Linked DNA regions of Homo sapiens: region 1 is linked to region 2. The links are contacts of gene promoters, found by promoter capture Hi-C in blood cells and fetal thymus (Javierre and others, 2016). All regions are on one chromosome and are shown on one strand. The core of a region is centred on a gene start or on the middle of the fragment in contact, and the rest is flanking DNA. Distances in the headings are between cores, read along the strand shown.

Region 1 (6,297 bases), core at 3,627-6,126, 1.4 Mb before region 2:
TTATTTTTCCACTGTTATGAAAAAATGCAGATTTTCCCCGAAGAAGCATTTTTTTAATTCATCGCTTTTTCTTAAAGCCACGTGACAGAAAGCCAGGGCCCAGATCCTAAGGAGAGGGACCATCATGGGTCAGTTTTTAAAATGGGAGAAAAGTGTCCCCTGTAAAAAAGTACTACTTGTCCACTTTAGAGGAGAGAATACTAAATATGAAGTGGGAGGGGCTAAAATAAAATTACACCCACTTCCTCTGTACGACTTTCTTGGTTACAAGTGATAGAAATTTAATTCAAACTAGGTTAGGTAAAGGGGGAATTTATTAGTTTGGAGTATCTAAGGCTGAACAACTAAATTGTGGCTGGTCAGGAATGTGGCTGGGCCTCAGAAACAACTGGAGCCGGGCATCTGAATGCTCTCCCTACTCTCCCTGTCCTTCCTTTCTGCAGCACTGTCCAGATCAGCTTCTTCCACATGGGAGGGAAAATGGCTGCTGACGGCTCCCAAGCCTCAATCCCTTCACCCTTGCCACTGGTAAGACAGATTCCTTTTTTCACTTCCAGTTTTTAAAATTCCAGGGAAGGGCTCTGACTGGCTCTGCTGTAGTCATGTGTATACCCAGCCAATGGGAGCCAGGCTGAGGGGTGGGGTCATGGCTGTTACTGCCGTAGCCCCTTGGACAGGAGGCGGCAGGCACAGACATCAATCACTGAGTGTCCTTCGCCTCAGCATTTCCCCTGAGGTTGGTTCTGCACACCTTCATCTTTGTCTCAGCACAGGCCCTGGGCGGCAATGCCTTTTTGTGTTTTTTATGTATAAAGCTATTTGTTACAGTGTTGACTCAAAGCTGATACATTTCTGTTCTCAGGCAAACTGCGGTTTAGGTTGCTGCCTTGGCAGTCCTGGCTGTCCTCACGGAAGAGCATGTGAACCACGGACCTGGCTGTCTTTTTCATTGGGTTGGCTCTGCGGTGCAGGCTGGCAGATGAGCATGTGATGAGCCCGCCCTTGCTGGCCGTGCAATTCGGCTCCTGTCATGCTCTTGGCCATTGAATCGGCCTAATGCAGCCCCTCAGCAGCCAGCCTGGTGTTCCCTGGGGCTGAGGATCTAATGTCAGCAGGGCATGATTCGATTCACATTAAAGATGGATATTAAGTCTTTTTACTCGGGGTCTTGTCAAGAAAAACAAATCTGCCTGCTATCAAAGGCATAGAAAATGCCCCTTACCATGACAGCAGTTAACTATGTTCACTGATATCAAAGAGACTGTCTGTCCCCAAGCCTTGGAGGCAGTTTTGTCAAGGTCAATTCGGCTGATCTTTTTCAACGATAACCCAAAGAGGATTAAGTTAACATCTGACCTTTAAAGAGCTTTATTGTTGGGGAACCAAGCTAATTAAAAAATTAAAAGACTGCTTTTGAAAAATATTTAGACCAAACACTAAGGAAAACATGAACACACTGCTTATAGCAGCAGGAATATTGACAGAAAATCCCCAATGGCAAACTAGCTTTGTTATCACACTGTTGAGCTTAATGTGGGGACTCTGGAATCAAACGAATGGGTTCCAATCCTGGCTCTGCCACTTTCTAGTTTCTAGAAAGTGTTTCTAGAAACACTAGTTTCTAGTTTAGTTTCAAAGTAGGGCAAGTGTCTTGCCTTCTCTGAGCTCTGTTGTCTTATTTGTAAAATCGGGATAATAATAGTAATTATCTATAAGATTATTGCAAGGATTAAATGAGATAGTACATGTAAAGCCTTTTCATTTAGGCTAACTATAAATATTACTGTGGACATTTTCAAGTTTAAACATTTTTAAATTTTGCTTTACCGACTTGTGCCATCATGTTGACAGCTGAATGGAATCTCTTGACAAAGTGGCTGGTTCTCACTATCTCCAGAATTCAGAGAAACATCTAGGTTCTGAGCTGGCTCAGCTTTGGACCAAATGTTACTAGCATAGATATAGCAGCTCTTACACCCCAGCTGCCACTGCACTTGATCATCTGCCCCATTACACATATGACAACTCTGTTTACTACTAAAGCTATCTTGAAGAAATGGAATTGTGAGAATAGGGATGGTAATGTTGTCCAGAAAAAGTTCTCTCTTTTAAGTTCTCCTATAAATACTTTCCAATTCAAGGAGATACTGTTCATTGTTAAATGTTTTCATCCAAAGCAGTGTTCCTCACCCTGGCTTCCGGTTTGCTTTTTCTTTTTCTTTTCTTTTCTCTCTTTTCTTTTCTTCTGTCTCTTTTCTTTTCTGTCCTTTCTTTCTTTTTTCTTTTCTTTTCCTTTCTTTCTTTCTTTTATTCTTTCTTTCCTTCTTTCTTTCTTTTTTCTTTCTTCCTGCCTTCCTGCCTGCCTTCTTTCCTTCCTTCCTTTCCTTCTTTTCTTTTCTTTTTTGACAGCATCTAACTCTGTTACCCAGGCTGGAGCGCAGTGGTGCATAGCTCACTGCAGCTGCAGTCTCAAACTGCTGGGCTCAAGTGATCCTCCTGGCTCAGCCTCCCAAGTAGCTGGGACTACAGGTGCACACCACCACACCTGGCTAATTTAAACTTTTTTTTTTTTTTTTTTTTAAAGACATGAGGTCTTGCTATGATTCCCAGGCTGGTCTCAAATGCCTGTCCTCAAGAATCCTCCCACTTTGGCCTCCCAAAGTGCTGAGATTATAAGCATGAGCCACTGCACCCGCACTTGGCTTGGTTTTCTTTTCATTGGCTTATGTGGTGGTTGGAGTTATCTCTTTTGCATGTTGACAGGTGTCATAAAGCCATAGGAGACTTTGAGATGGCCTGAAAATAAGATCATGGATTTTTCCTGGCAGAGAGTTTAGTTTACTTTCAAACCCCGCTAGCCTTTGCTACTCAAAGCCTGGTTCATAAAACCAGGGCTTTGACTTCACTTAGATGCTTCTTAGAATTGCAGAATCTCTTGCCCCACAGTCTTGCTCTCTCAGGCTGGAGTACAGTAGCACAATCTCAGCTCACTGCAACTTCCACCTCCTGAATTCAGGTGATTCTGGTGTCTCAGCCTCCCAAGTAGCTGGGATTATAGGCATGCACCATCATACCCAGCTACTTTTTGTATTTTTAGTAGAGACAGGTTTTTGCCATGTTGTCCAGGCTGATCTCAGACTCCTGGCCTCAAGTGATCTGCCCATCTTGGCCTCCCAGAATGCTTGGATTACAGGTGTGAGCCACTGCACCGGCCACAATCTGCATTTTAACAAACTTCCCAGGTGGTGCCAATGACATTAAAGTTGCAGCAGCACTGCTCAGGAGCTGTGCATTGGAATCACCTGGAGTACTTGAAAAACTATTGATGCTCAGGTCCCAACCACAAAGACTCCCCCAACTTAACTGGCATTGGGGTTTTAAAAAATTTCTCCAGGTCATTGTAACTAATGCACAAGGTGAGAACTTGTGCTCAAGAGACATTCTTTCTTCTTCCTCCACTTATTTCTACAATTGCTTTTCTCTTAAAGTAAAAATCTCAAGCTACAGTCAAAGTTCATTTCATGTCCATTTTATAGATAATGCCACACAATGTGAAGATTCATTCTGAATTTAAAAAATAACCTTTACAAATATCTTCTGAACCTTTGCCAAGGTCCCCACATCCCTCTTTTATTGTGAGGTCCAGAACTAGACACAGTCCTCCAGTACAGCCCTCAACATCACTGAACAGCAGCACAAGGGATGTTTGTATTCTTCTGAATGAAAGGTACTGTTATAAAGAAAGTCAGAACATTCGAAGGGGGTGGGGGCGGCTTTGATGGCCAAGCAAAAGATTTCCTCATGCCTACACTCAGTCTGGGAGTGAATGAGCCAGTTACATAAGGAGAAAATCCTCCTTCCTAGTGTTGAGCTTTCCTAATTGGAGGACTAAATGTGTCATTATTTAACTAAATAATTAATAAGCTTTCTTGTAATTCATGGATGACTAAACAGATAAACTCACCTGTACCAAACTTTCAGAGAGAGTTCCACTGATTTAATAAATTTGGTTCATGTCATCAGCATAAAAGTCATCTGAACCTTGAGCCTCAAAGACCAGTGACCTCCAAACTTGACAACTCAACTTATAAGAATCAACTCGGCTGCTTACTAAACATATATAGATGTCTGAGCAAAGGTATTTGTGGTTTTTAAAAAACTACATCAATTCTTCTCAAACTTTAATGGGGGTGGTGATGTGGTGAGGGCAGGTCTTGTAAAAAATTTAGACTCCCATCAACAGGTCTGAGTAGGGCCTGAGATTCTGCATTCCTAACGATCTCAAAAGTGATACCGTGCCGCTACTTCATGGACCACACTTTTAGTGGCAAGGCCCTAGACAATTTTGATAATCAGCCAGTTTGGGAACCAGAACTTGAGGCATCATAAATGTTACCTGAAATATGAAAAAGCTAATCTCCGCCTCAATGTTTATCAGCAGCTCAGGGTGCATCAGTGAGTGTTACACAGACGGATACAAAATGTGGGTGGGCAAATTTAATTTCAAACGGTGGAAGAAACCTTATTGAGAATGTTTAATTATGTTCATGCTCCGCTAATACGAGAATAGAGTGGACTCTTAAGTTCCTTTATTTCTCTAGTGATCTATTCTTTAGAGTTCACCAGCAAACACAAAGGCGGGAGGAACCGTTACTTTAAATTCATATTATTTTAGCTGATGTATCTGGAGCACAGTGATAAATTAATCATGACGTCTGGTCTGATTCACAATCATGTTCTAGCCTAATTTACACTTTGCATTTGCAGAACTGAAATGCGATGCATTAAAATGGTCACACACCACGGATTTTTCTCCTCGCTGCACCCATGGAGGGAGGCGCTGTCTCCGCCTTTTCCTGTAAGCACCTGCCCGGGGCCCAAGCCCACAGTGGATGGCTCGTCCAGCTCAGAGAGCGCCCAGGACGCAGTGAGGAAGCAGAATTGGGCGCTCAAGACTCAGACCCGGACTGATGAGCTAAGACTGCTTGCAAGAGGGAGTGGGAGTCGTTAAAAAAATATCCTCGTGGCTTAATGACCAAGGCGGGTTTATTCTCAAGGAAGGGGGAGCGGCGTGGTGGTGTTACTAAACATAACAGATGGCAGCTGTCTGCGGCTATATAGGGCGCGCTGACAAATCCCTCTGGATGGCCACGCGGCGCTGGGCTGCGGGGCCTGGGTGCACTTCGCGCCTGGCTCGGAGGGCGCCGCCTGCGGGAGGACCTCCGGGAGCCGAGCTGCCTCCCCGCAAACCCGGCCCGGGCCCACGCGGGCTCAGGGCGCCAGGCGGGGTGCGCCGAGGTGCAGCTCCCCGGCCCTAGGCTTCGCTGGGGTGGGGGTCGAGGCCTCTCCGCGGGTGGCTCCCTCCACCCTGCCGCCCCGCCTCGCGGCTGGGAGTTGCCCGGGAGCTGTGAATTCACTAGACCAGCATTCACCCAGGGCCTGCGGGGGCTGTGAAAGGATGGGAGGACTCGGCTCCCCAACCCACCTTTACAAAGCCGAAGTGTGGCTGGTGAGGTACCCGACACGCACACACTGCACCGTGATACTGAACCATGCCTGAGTGTGCATTTTGTGCGAAATGGGTCTTAGCCATGATTTCCATGTGGTGAACATCTTTTCCAAACCCCGGATTGAAACACGATTATCAGGTCAATAACATTTTTTCTATGATTTGGAGATTGATTCAGATGGGCAAAATCTTACAAAGTTAATAATCTTATAAAAATCTTACATAATAATCTTAAGTCGCTTTTAGAGAGACATTTAAAAAATATGTCTATTGAAAATAATAAAATTCAGTGAAATTGGACAGGACTGTGGCAGTTGGGGAAGCTTCCTGGAAGATCGGGCAGAAAGAGAGCTTGCCAGTTTGGGCTTGGGATGGGCAAAAACAGAGGGGATTGAGAGTTCTGGGGACTCAATAACGTACATCACTGTGATTTTCAAGCGGCAAATTTCTTTAGAAAGGTAAGGCCAGACAGACTAATGGGAACTGTCCAAGGAGAGGGAACAGAGGAACCCTCTGCACTTTTGGGGCTATGGTCTCTGAAATCGGCTGCAAGGACCACCACCTAGGGGTCGTGTGGTGCATGTCATGTGCTTGGCTTTCTGCAGCAGTGTTGGAGAGTTCCATGGGAAAAGCCTCCTCTCCCCACCCCTCATCATCTCCTCGACCCCTTTCTCAACAAATGTCAGGGACTAAGGCTTCCTTATTTTCTCCTCAATCACCTTGCAGTGCTTTTCACTGAAGGTGAGAAAGGTTGAGGTTCATTCATTCATTTAACAAATGTTTAAGAG
Region 2 (6,605 bases), core at 310-2,809:
GCCAGTGTTCTTAACACAGTATCTTGAGAATGTTAAACTAAAAAGTTTTTAATTTACAGTATTCTTTCCACAATTAAAAAAGAAATTATGAGTAATTATTTTTAGTTCTTTCTTCTCTTCAGGCATTTCCCATGGTTCTTTTCAAGACATAATACATATCATTTAGTGTTGTAGATCTGAAAAAACAAAAGTAGCGTGAAGATCAAAAATTTTCTAAAGAGACGGAGTCTCGCTACGTTCCCTAGGCTGGAACACCCAGGCTTCTCCAGCCTCACACCTCTGAGTAGCTGGAACCACCCTGTCCGCTAAGGTCAATGTTTAATCGTATCTTTGTAGGTCTACTGACCAGTTAAAAAGAGGTGCTGTATACATTGGTTGTTGTCTTGTCAGAGTTTGATGCTTCTATATAGACCATTGTTTTTACATGCTAATACAATTGAAAGCCACTACAGATATTTATATTTACAACCCAAAGCTAGGTTTTAACAAGAAACTCATAAGGCAAAGGTGAGAAGTAAAATAATTTAGCGCCAAGTGGAGATATATGTGCAATGCTACTTTGTTGGGCTCAAAACATATTTTTCTTTTAGAAGACTGACAGGCTTGAAGTTTATGCCTCCAAAGACAAAAGTGATTATGTTTTGTTTAGTAGCTTGCAAAGTTGCCAAAGGCCATTTTTTCTACTCTTTCCCTGAAATTGGTTTATATGCTTATTAAAGTCATTTATACCTATTTGCAAATGCTTAACATAGTTTCAGATTTTAAGATTTCCCTGCAACTTTATTTCCCTTGAAGTTTACAGCAACAGGAGTTCATTTTTATTTTTAATTGCATTTATTCAGTAAGTAAACTCCGCCACAGAAAAACTTAGTAGACAAGGTGAGTTCCCCTGTGCTCCGTGGCAAAGAGTGCGGTGGGTGACATTGACCCATGGTTAGGTAATCTGGTAAGGAAAGACCCCGTTGTAACACATCTGAGCAACGAGACCAAAGGAAGGGCTTGCTGCCACGAGGCGAAGTCTGCTTTTTTGAACAGAGAGCCCAGCAGAGTTGGGCGGCAATCGTGCCCAGCACTGAGGCCGAGGAGAAAGAGAGCAGGAGCATTACATTACTGCACCAAGAGTAGGAAAATATGATGCATGTTTGGGACCAGGCAACCGAAATCCCTTCTCAGCAGCGCCTCCCAAAGCCGGGCACCGCCTTCCTTCGGAGAAGGCGCAGAGTCCCCAGACTCGGGCTGAGCCGCACCCCCATCTCCTTTCTCTTTCCTCCGCCGCTAAACACAGACGAGCACGTGAGCGTCGCAGCCCGTCCCAGCTGTGCCTCAGCTGACCGCCTCCTGATTGGCTGAGAGCGGCGTGGGCTGGGGTGGGGACTTGCCGCCTGCGTCGCTCGCCATTGGATCTCGAGGAACCCGCCTCCACCTCAGGTGAGGCGGGCTTGCGGGAGCGCGCGCCGGCCTGGGCAGGCGAGCGGGCGCGCTCCCGCCCCCTCTCCCCTCCCCGCGCGCCCGAGCGCGCCTCCGCCCTTGCCCGCCCCCTGACGCTGCCTCAGCTCCTCAGTGCACAGTGCTGCCTCGTCTGAGGGGACAGGAGGATCACCCTCTTCGTCGCTTCGGCCAGTGTGTCGGGCTGGGCCCTGACAAGCCACCTGAGGAGAGGCTCGGAGCCGGGCCCGGACCCCGGCGATTGCCGCCCGCTTCTCTCTAGTCTCACGAGGGGTTTCCCGCCTCGCACCCCCACCTCTGGACTTGCCTTTCCTTCTCTTCTCCGCGTGTGGAGGGAGCCAGCGCTTAGGCCGGAGCGAGCCTGGGGGCCGCCCGCCGTGAAGACATCGCGGGGACCGATTCACCATGGAGGGCGCCGGCGGCGCGAACGACAAGAAAAAGTAAGCCCATTCCCTCGGCCCGCCGCCTTCTCCCCCGGCGACCCCGCCCGCCTGCCCGCCCTGGGCTCCTGGGCCGGCCTCGGCGTTAATGGGATTGGGGGGGGCAGCCTTTTTGTTTCTGCTGCTGCTCCCCTCCCCTCTCTTCCCCCAACCTCGCCGGCCGGGCTCCCCCGCTGTCCACGTCGCCATCTTGTCGTGGGGGGTGGGAGACGCCTCGAAAGTGCTTTCAGGGGCCGGGGTCTGAGCCCTGCTTGCCCTCCCCGCCGGCCGTGGGGGCCTCGCGCCGCCCACCTACCCGCCTCAAAAACCCAGCCTGCTCTGTGGCCCCATCCGGAGGGGACTTTACCCAGCCTGAAAACCCCGGGAAGAGAAATGAGCTGCAGCTCGGTAGCCGCGGTTTGCACCCGGAGCTTCCGCTCCTTCCCGCCCCCATCCTCTCCAGTTCCATTGAAAACTCGGCCCTGGGGCGGACCCTGCACGCTGGTCCTGGCTTTCCAGTGGACTTGGGGCCTTGAGTTCCCGACTGAGGGACTCGCGTGGTCGGATGCGATCTTGTCCTGTAGTTGTCCAGCCGTCGCGGGTGTCTTTGCCTTTGTGCATTAGGGATTTGCCGCGATGGCCTTAAGATGCGAACTTTTTAGTTTGCACGTGCAGGTTTTGTTTCGTTTTAATCGCCTTGAAAAACTTGCCTAGACTGAGAGTCAGAGTAATGGGAATTTAGGGAAATGGCAACATTTTAAAGAGAACTTCAGAATTGGATACTTGAGTTCATATCACCTGTCACGAGAACGCAGATATTATAAATGAATATATGCCTCATTCATTCTTCAAATAATGAAAATGTAGGGGCTGGTTAAATTTAGGCAGTTTTAATGATACTGAAAAAAGTATATGATGAGTGAATGAAATGCGGCACTAAAATGTTGCAAAAATTTTCGAACTCTGTCTCATTTTCCTGAAATTGAAGTATATTAAAGGAAAACCGTCAACATATATCTAAAGTAAGTAATCACTCGGTTAGAACTTAATGCAAGTTTTATAAATCACCTTGAAGTTTGAGTCTAAGGGGTACATTAGAGATTAAGAATTGTGAGTTGGACCAGTGGTGTTAAGAGCGGACTCCCCCATCCCCCAACACACACACAATTTTGCCCACTTTGGCATTTTAACTTTTAAGGAAATCACTTAAGGAATTGAAGATTTAGAGTAAGAGTTTTGGTTAGTAGACTGGCTTTGCTGTTAAATCCTTCCACTCTTCTGGCAGAGAGATTAATTTCCCTAATCAGTATCAGCAGAAGATAAACTTGTTTATATTCCTGCTGTTTTGTAGATCCCTTCTCCTGGTCCTTCTTCAATAGAATATTAAATTCTTAGTTTGTATACAGCAGAGAAGGTCACTTATAAAATTCAAAAAGTGAGCAAACAGGTCTAGATTAATTCCAAGAGTTACCAGGAATTAATTGCAGTTTATTTTGCGGAGGTGATTACAGTGCTTTTGATGAAATGATAAAGCTGCTATATTGTAAACCTAAGGCAGATTACCTCTGTGTAGTGCCAGTTTTCTATCCTTATTATATATTGAATCATACTTAATACAATGCATTAAATTATGTACCACTTTTTTTATATACAGTATCGAACTCATTGTTTTGCCATTCATCCGTTCAGAATATCAGAAGCAGTTTTGAAACGAATTAATAAATTAGCTACTGTTCATCAGCCCCAATTCTAAATAAGCTCTTAGATTTTCCTCAGCCCATCTGTTACTTTCAAAATTTTCTCATTTGAAAACTTGGCAACCTTGGATTGGATGGATTCATATTTCTTAGTATAGAAGTTCTTGATATAACTGAAAAATTAAGTTAAACACTTAATAAGTGGTGGTTACTCAGCACTTTTAGATGCTGTTTATAATAGATGACCTTTTCTAACTAATTTACAGTTTTTTGAAAGATAACTGAGAGGTTGAGGGACGGAGATTTTCTTCAAGCAATTTTTTTTTTCATTTTAAATGAGCTCCCAATGTCGGAGTTTGGAAAACAAATTTGTCTTTTTAAAAGAAGGTCTAGGAAACTCAAAACCTGAAGAATTGGAAGAAATCAGAATAGAAAATGGGTATGGTTATGATACTGTAGATTTAACGCAGGACATTTCATGTTGTTCCTAGTTATAGGGGCTGAACTTATTTAATAGCACGTGCATTTTGATTTTTAGATTTTTAAGGGAATGTCAAGAGAGTAATGATTCTGTTTCAGGCTTCAGGCCAGACTCCTTCAGAGTTTTCCAAAACAAATAATTACTGAATCATTAAAGTAAAATTTCTGAGAATAGATATTCCTTAATTTCCTTCATTAACTTTGGCCATTAAAAGTCAAGAAGCTCTCTCATTTATTAGCAAACTTTTCTCCTTATGATTCTATTTTGATTGTCCTTTTGTTTGAGGAAGCAGCATATGGTGGTTAAGAGCATAGGATCTAGAGGCAGATACCTCTGAGTTAAGGGTCCCAGCCCTTCACTTGTGAGCTTGAGCAAGTTACTGAATGCCTCTGAGCCTCTTTCCTCCTTTTGAAATGATGATAAGAATAGCAGCCATCTGAGCAGTTATTGTAAAGGTTAAATGAGATAATGCTTGTGAAGCACTTAGCCCATTGCAGGAGTCTTGATGACACTGTGTACTTGAAAATAGATGTTACCTGTTAAAATTCTTGTTTAAACTTCCACAACTCTTAAAACTCTTTTTTGCTAGTCCTTCCAGCTGTTTCCTTTAGTTTCTTTTCTGTGTCTTCATGCATCTTTTCTATCTCCTGAAAGTGAAAAGACTAACATTGGATCCAGAGCTTGAAAAGCGTTTTTTTCCTGTTACAATGGGCAAAAGAGTACATCCTTGGGTTATATTGGCACCTAGTATCAGTTATTTTTCTTGAGCATCTGATCTGCTCTCTACTCTAGTGGAGGCCTCCTGCTTCACAATTGCTCACCCCTGTGTTTTCTCCCCAAATAGAATACTGAGTTTACTCTGGACTCTAGAGTCAAACATACACAGTATTCTAGTCTTACTGTTCATTTAAGCAAGATATGTGCAAGACACTGCATTCTTAGTACTGGCAGTAAGTTAAAACATTTTTCGTCTTGATGCCAAAGTTTAGACAATTTTATAAAAATTAACCTTTGTAAAAGATAATGAGTTGATAAAATATTCTCAGTAAAGCAGCTACGTGGTAGAAAAACTGTCCTTTGCTTATGAGTTTCTCCAGAGTTAAGACCATTGGGTTCCATCTGAAGGCAAGACTTCAAGCTTGTCTTACTGGTCTGTTTTGTGGCTCAATTTGTATGAAGTCTATGCACTCTTCCACACGTGTGTATTTACTGAACTATCGAGTTATTTTAGACTGAGAAAGTATTGGAGTTCATTCCTACGGTCCACTGCAGAGCACCTTGTGCAGTTTGGAGAATGTCAACTTTTCTACCTGTTAACTTCCATTGTCTTTACTTTTAACGCCATTGTCTGTGACTCTAATGGTGTCACGGCTCAGGGTTTAGATTTTGTGGTTACATTCTATTCTTGTATGTCAAGAGTGGTGTATAGAAAGCTGAGGGGGATTATTTAGTCTCTTGACTGATTTTTTTTTTTTTTCTGAAGAACTCAGTTTATTATGTTTGGTGGTGAAATAAAAATTGATGTGCATGGATGTTAAAGATTTGGGTTAAATTGTGTGTTCATAGATGCCTTCTCTTAGTATATAATTTTTTAAATTTAGATACTTAAAATACTGTATCCCTTTATCTAAGATTAACATAAGTCTGTTTCTTAACCAGGATAAAAAAATCTAAATTTAAATGTGATGTTGGATGAGTTTCCAATCAAGAAATTGATTTTTTAAACTTTGTGACTAGTTATCCAGTGGGTGGATTTTACCCAGTGTGTGTATGTGTTTTCTGCTTAACTCTGGAAGGTTAGAAAGAGAATTTGAAACTAAGACAAGCCAAGCTTCTTGTTGCTCAGTATTTTTGGTAAAAATATGGTCAGATTGTTTAAATTAACTATAGGCTTTGGAATTTTAAAAATAATTATATCTCTTGGTCTCTTGACACATCAAGAATTAACTGTTTTGTATATGCGTTGAGTATTAATGTTCATGTTTTCTGCAGTAGAAATTTATAAACCCTTATTTATTTGCCAGACATGATCCCTTTAGAGAAATCTAGTATCTAAAACCTGAATTTTTAAAACAAAATTTAAAATTTTTGTTTCATAAAAACAAAAATGTGATTACCTCATGGCTTTTTTCTTATAGCTTTTGATTGTTTTTTAAAATCGTAGTTCAAAAACATTAACCTAAAATTTACCATCTTAACCATTTCTAAGTACTGTTCAGTAGTGTTAAGTATATTCACATTGTGCCACTAACTTCCAGAACTTTTTCATCTTGCAAAGCTGAAATCTTACCCATTAAACAACTCCCAATTTCCCCCTCTCCTCAGCCTCTGGCAACCACCATTTTACTTTCTGTTTCTGCAAATTTAACTACTCTAGATGCCTCATATAAATAGAATTATAGGGTTTTAATATTTTTGTGATGGGCTTATTTCACTTTGTGTAATGTCCTCAAGGTTCATCCATGTTGTAGCATGTGTCAGAATTTCCTTCCTTTTTGAGTCTGAGCAATATTCCATTATATGTTCCATATTTTGTTTCTCCATTCATCCAGCAACGGACAC

The links. Contacts are between HindIII fragments. The CHiCAGO score rates a contact against its expected background, and 5 or more counts as called.
Region 1: a fragment that was not itself captured here is called in contact with the fragment with the promoter of HIF1A in region 2 in 1 of 17 cell types (M2 macrophages); the score reaches 5.7 in M2 macrophages.

Annotation. Positions count from the first base shown.
Region 1 is chr14:60,322,749-60,329,045 of GRCh38, forward strand. It overlaps LINC02322 (long intergenic non-protein coding RNA 2322), which reads left to right and starts at 448. Exons shown (of 2, transcript NR_146481.1): 1 at 448-528; 2 at 863-1,159. RefSeq lists an enhancer at 5,001-5,060 and a silencer at 5,171-5,480. The HindIII fragment of the contact is 1,908 bases long and covers 3,923-5,830 here.
Region 2 is chr14:61,693,954-61,700,558 of GRCh38, forward strand. HIF1A (hypoxia inducible factor 1 subunit alpha) reads left to right here and starts at 1,560. Exons shown (of 15, transcript NM_001530.4): 1 at 1,560-1,886. The coding sequence starts at 1,852. It overlaps HIF1A-AS1 (HIF1A antisense RNA 1), which reads right to left and starts at 1,870. Exons shown (of 2, transcript NR_047116.1): 1 at 1,754-1,870. RefSeq lists an enhancer at 879-1,248 and silencers at 1,319-1,618, 1,919-2,018. The HindIII fragment of the contact is 8,611 bases long and covers 1-5,179 here.